2 separate regions of the Homo sapiens genome follow, and region 2 is linked to region 1. The links are contacts of gene promoters, found by promoter capture Hi-C in human tissues and cell types (Jung and others, 2019). All regions are on one chromosome and are shown on one strand. The core of a region is centred on a gene start or on the middle of the fragment in contact, and the rest is flanking DNA. Distances in the headings are between cores, read along the strand shown.

Region 1 (2,545 bases), core at 22-2,521:
CCCCGGGCCGCGCACTCACGCCCGCATTCCCAGCAGTTCAGACAAAGCGCGCAACCTCCCCCGCGGCCCAGACCGAGTCGGAGCACATGGCTCCTGGGTCGGCGAGGAATCGTCCGGCGCTCGGGGCGCTTGCACCCCACAGTCCCCACACCCCGGGCCGACTCCGCGCACCAGCTCCCGCGCGGGCCCGCCATCCCGGTGGGACGGGGGCTCTGGAAGAAAGAAAACTCACGTGTCTGTCCCGGGGCAGGAAAAAGTTTGGTTCCCACCCCTACTCCGGCAGTTCGGGGCTGGCCGACTCTTCGGGGCGCGGGGACGGCGGAGCGTGCGCGCTCGGCTTTGTGCTCCGAACTGGGCCCGGAGGGGGAGGGGAGGGGAAGGGAGGGGAGGGGGCTGGGCTCCCACCTCCGCGCCGCCCCCCCCCCCCCAGCCCTGCGCCCAGACTCCATGTTGGCCGCCCCCTGCCCCGGAGACTACGCGCTTCTCCCGCGGGAGGCTTGGATCACCTTCGGCCTGCCCGAGGGTCCCGGCGCGAACAAACTTTCTCCGGGGCGCCGGCCCCACGCGCCCCGCTTCCTTGGCCAGCCTGGGAGTGACAGATGCCTCGGAGACAGACTTTCCTTTGTTCCAAAGGAAAGGGGAACTCGCGCGGGCTCCCCAGGGCCCCCCCGCTCCGGGCCCTTCCCGCGGCCCCCACCCCCAGCTGTCACTCTCGGCCGCCCCCTGTCCGGCTCGGCGGCGGGGGGGCCCTGCTGGCGGTTAGCAACGTGCACTTTTGAAACCAAACAAATCCGTCCCCCCGCGCGCTCACTCAGGTCCGGTGCAGGATCGGCCCTCTCCTGGGGTGGGATCCTATGAAGCTGGGCCCCCCACCAGGGCCCCAAGCGGGCTTCCTCCCGGGGGCTGGAACAGTCCCCCACCGGCCCCCGGAGCGCAGCGCCGTCGGGACTCACAAACACCCCCCGGGGGCCGTCGGGACTCACAAACACCCCCGAGCTCACACACCCCCTACCGCACGCGCCAGGACGACGCCCCCTCCCCGTCCGGCCGAGAAAAAGAAACTTTCCAAGTTGTCCGCGCGCCCCCACCCCCATCTGGCCCTCTGCTGCTCCCTGCACTGACTTTTCCCAGCGGCTTTCGGGTCCACGCGGCCTCCGGCTCGGCGCGGGGCGTCCCGGCGGGGAGCGGGGGGCGCCGGGGGCGCGCGCCGCGTACCTGCCCGGCCTGACACTCGGCCTGACAGCTCGCGGCTGGAAAGCACCTCGCGGCCTGACGTCAGATCCCCTCTCCTCCCCCCGCGCCCTCTGCGCCCTCCCCCACCCGCCCGGAGGGAGAAAACAAACTTTGTGCGGAGCGCGACGAGCTGCGCCCACCCCCCGCGGGGCGGGCCGTCGGCGCCGAGGGGCTTCGCCCCGCCCAGCGCGCCCGGAGGGGGCGGGGCCGCGGGCACCTTCTTCCTGCGCCCACCCCGCCCTCAGGAATGCTGCATGGCCTACCCATAGCGGCGGTGGGAGCCTCCGCCGGGGAGAGCCCGCTCGGGGGCAGGAAGTGGCCCGGCCCTCCTCGTGGAGGGCGTTTCCGGAGCGCCTACTGTGCTCCTTGCCGGGGTGGGGGTCGTTACCGAGTGGGAACTTCTGCAAATCCTGACTTTTGTCACTTCGCGCCCCGCACAAGATGTCCTGCCGGCGGTGCGATTGGTCCCGTTGCTTCGAGGGGAAACTGAGGCCACTTAGTCCGGGCACTTACCCGCAGCTAGTTAAGGACTAGGCTCTGATGGAGACGCTTGTTACGACCTCAATGGCCTGTAGAATCTGGGAGGCCGCCTCCGACCTAAGCCCAAAAAGCACATGATCGGGCTCACAGGGGGCGGCCAGAGGTGAAAACAGCCAACGCTTTACAACGACGCTGTGCGGGGCACTTCGTGTGTGTCATCCCGTCTCATCCTCGGGTGATAGGGTATGTGTTGTCCTATGTAAGTCTCTGGCTTACTCATGAGCCGCAGAGAGGTTCTTGATTTGCTTTTGTCACACAGTCAACCGGTATCATTCAGCCCAGGTCGGTCGATAGTGAAGCCTGATCCCTTACCCCTTGTGCCCGGCCTTAAACGATCAGTCCAGGAGCTCCCGGAGTTCCTGTCTGGTTTCTTTTTCCTCTTCTGCCAGTTACACCCTACTCCAGAAGGTTTTCCTTGGCCTCCCCCACCCCAGTCAGTACATTCTTCCCTGCTCTCTGCTGTGGGTACCACATACTGTGATATTTCTGTTAACCAGCCTCTTAGGGCATCCCCCCACGCCCCCCAGCCCTGTACCCGGACACGGCTAGGTCCAGATATCTAGGGCCCTTGAGCTTGGAAATCGCTTTGAAAACAGCTTTTGGACTTAATTACCCTTTAGCAATGGAGAACTCTAGGAACAAAACTCTTAATTTTTTCCAAACAAGCCTTAAGCCAATCAGAATGCTGATTAAAGATTGTTAAGGTTTCACCTGGACACCCCATAGAAGCCAGACTTCCTGCAAATGTTAAAAACCTCCTCACGGCAGCGGG
Region 2 (2,545 bases), core at 18-2,517, 640 kb before region 1:
AGGAGAATCGCTTGAACCCCGGAGGCAGAGGCTGCAGTGAGCCAAGATGGCACCACTATACTCCAGCCTGAGTGACAGAGCGAGACTCTGTCTCAAAAACAAAAATAAAAATAAAAAAAGAAAACATTGGAGAATATCTTTTTGACTTTGGGGTAGCACAGGATTGTTTTAAAGAAGATATAAAAAACACAGTCTAGCAAAAAAACTTGTATTTTATTTATTTATTTATTTTTTTGAGACAGAGTCTGGCTCCATTGCCCAGGCTGGAGTGCGGTGGCACGATCTCAGCTCACTGCAACCTCCACCTCCCAGGTTCAAGCGATTCTCCTGCTTCAGCCTCCCGAGTAGCTGGGATTACAGGCACGTGCCACCACGCCTGGCTACTTTTTGTGTTTTTAGTAGAGATGGGGTTTCATCATGTTGGCCAGGCTAGTATTGAACTCCTGACCTCAGGTGATCCGCCTGCCTTGGCCTCCCAAAGTGCTGGGATTACAGGTGTGAGCCACCTCACCTGGCCCTAGGAAAAGACATTTAAATTAGGCTTCATTAAAATTAAATTTTGTGCTTCAAGAGATGCCATAAAGCAATTCTAGGGGAAGATATCTGATGCTCACAACTAAACATATATCACTCCTAAAAATCAGTAATAAGACTAACAAACCAAAAGAAAACCAGGCAAAGATATAAAACAATTCACTGGAAAGGAAATGTAATTGGCTAATAAATATATAAAAAGATGTTTAACTTTACCAGTAACCAAGGAAAGACATTAAAACAAGATACCTTTTCATATGCATCAGATTACTAAAACCTAAAAATACCAAATATTGGTACGAATATGGAGAATAGAGCAATTTGGTGACTGTAACAGCAAAAGACTCATGGAAAAGACAATCAGAGGTGGAATCAATAGGACTTGGTAACTGACTAGAAGGTAGAAGTGAAAAGAAAGGAAGGGGTTAAGAACTGTGAGGTATAAGCCTGGCATTTAAGATGGACTCGAAGTACAGGGAAGAAGAGGTTTCAAGAAAAAAAAAGAAAAGAAAAAAAGAACTTTCCTTTTAATATGTTCAGTTGCAAATAAGTCCTCTTAACATAGGAAACTAACATTATAAGAATGTGGATTTGAAAGGATCAAGGCATACGCTACAATAGCTTCTATCCATAGTGAACGAACTAAGATCAGATGTCTCATGCTAAAAAGGTCAACACATGAGGTGAAGAGATTCGAGTTCCAGAAAACATCTTCCTTTCTGCCAAACTTTAAATGCAAGTGTTGAATCTACCTATGGGAAGTAATGCCGCATTTTTGAAAAGGTCAAACTTTCTAGCTATTAATTCTGTCATTAAAAGAAAGCAAGTGTCACAGGAGCCAATTTGAGGAGCTCTCCAAAGGCCAAACCTAGGATAAAATGAGCAACAAGATAAATGAGTCATGGACCACAATGTATATAGTAAAATAAATGTCCATGATGCAATTATTGTAAACATATGAATTATAGAAAATATATTACATTATAAACATGTTATGATAAAGAATTATGATAGTTATAAATAAAATGGTATAAAACACAGTTATTTTCTTACAGCAGAATTCCAATTTTTAAAATGTAGAAGGAATGAAAGAGAAAATCACCCTTTGGCAAACACCACAGTAATAACTATTACAGACAACATCATTAGGATACTTACAGAGTCTCAAAGTACCACCCCACAAGACACTTAAATACAAGCAGAAAAACAGCAACTTTACAGCAGAGAAACCTAGCACACAATCACCTTACTCAAGTGATCAAGGTTAACATGACCTGTAATAAGACATATCGACATCATATACTTCTTGTTCTGAGTAGGGCAGAGCATTACTTTTGGGATAGAACTGCGGAAAATGCATGACCTGAACCTGATCATGAAGAAACATCAGACAAACACAAACGGAGAGACATTCTACAGATTGAGAGCCCATCCTCTTCAAGTGTCAAGGTCATGAAAGACAAAGAAACCATCTTAAATTGGAAGTAAGAAAGTAGGAAAATGTGTCACTCATCTTAAATAAACTTCTATCTAAAAAGATTACAATGAAAGCCACCATGCCAGATGGGGTAAATTTCAATTAGCTGGGAAAAATACTAAGGTGAACTACCTCTTTCCCACAAAGCATCAGGTAAATAAGGCTTTCTATCCTTAAAGCTACTTCGATCTTCAACCCAGCTAGAGTTAGCTAAACATCAACAAAGTTCATTATGAAAGATTACTGATTTTCTTTTATCCTTTACCCAAATAGCTTCATTATAGTGTTACGTATGTGTCACTTGGTGCTTTTTGTCACCTATTTGGCATCAAGCACTTTTCTAAACCCACCAAAGCCTATCACACAAAACACTTTAAGAGTTTAAGGCTCAGTGGAATTATGGGTGATTTTTATTTTTTCTACTAACTAAATTTCATGTAAGACAGTAATGCTAAATTATAATGGAAAATGAAAAACTTACAAATAAAAGAAAATTCACTATGACCAAGTTCTTGATTTACTGCCTTAGCTACT

Evidence for each region. The method cuts DNA at HindIII sites, captures the fragments that hold promoters and counts their contacts. A contact is called where the count stands out against the background at its distance.
Region 2: a contact is called between a fragment that was not itself captured here and the fragment with the promoter of TGIF2 in region 1, in 1 of the 25 tissues and cell types used here (adrenal gland).

What each region holds. Positions count from the first base shown.
Region 1 is chr20:36,572,323-36,574,867 of GRCh38, reverse strand. It overlaps TGIF2 (TGFB induced factor homeobox 2), which reads right to left and starts at 1,271. Exons shown (of 3, transcript NM_021809.7): 1 at 1,123-1,271. It overlaps TGIF2-RAB5IF (TGIF2-RAB5IF readthrough), which reads right to left and starts at 353. Exons shown (of 5, transcript NM_001199535.2): 1 at 233-353. It overlaps DLGAP4-AS1 (DLGAP4 antisense RNA 1), which reads left to right and starts at 1,593. Exons shown (of 5, transcript NR_109939.1): 1 at 1,593-1,956. RefSeq lists silencers at 915-1,084, 1,155-1,244, 1,275-1,594 and an enhancer at 2,095-2,154. The HindIII fragment of the contact is 15,161 bases long and covers 1-2,545 here.
Region 2 is chr20:37,214,029-37,216,573 of GRCh38, reverse strand. All of the region lies in intron 9 of RPN2 (ribophorin II), which reads right to left. Among named protein-coding and RNA genes, the nearest start is that of MROH8, 36 kb to the right of the region's middle. The HindIII fragment of the contact is 9,723 bases long and covers 1-2,545 here.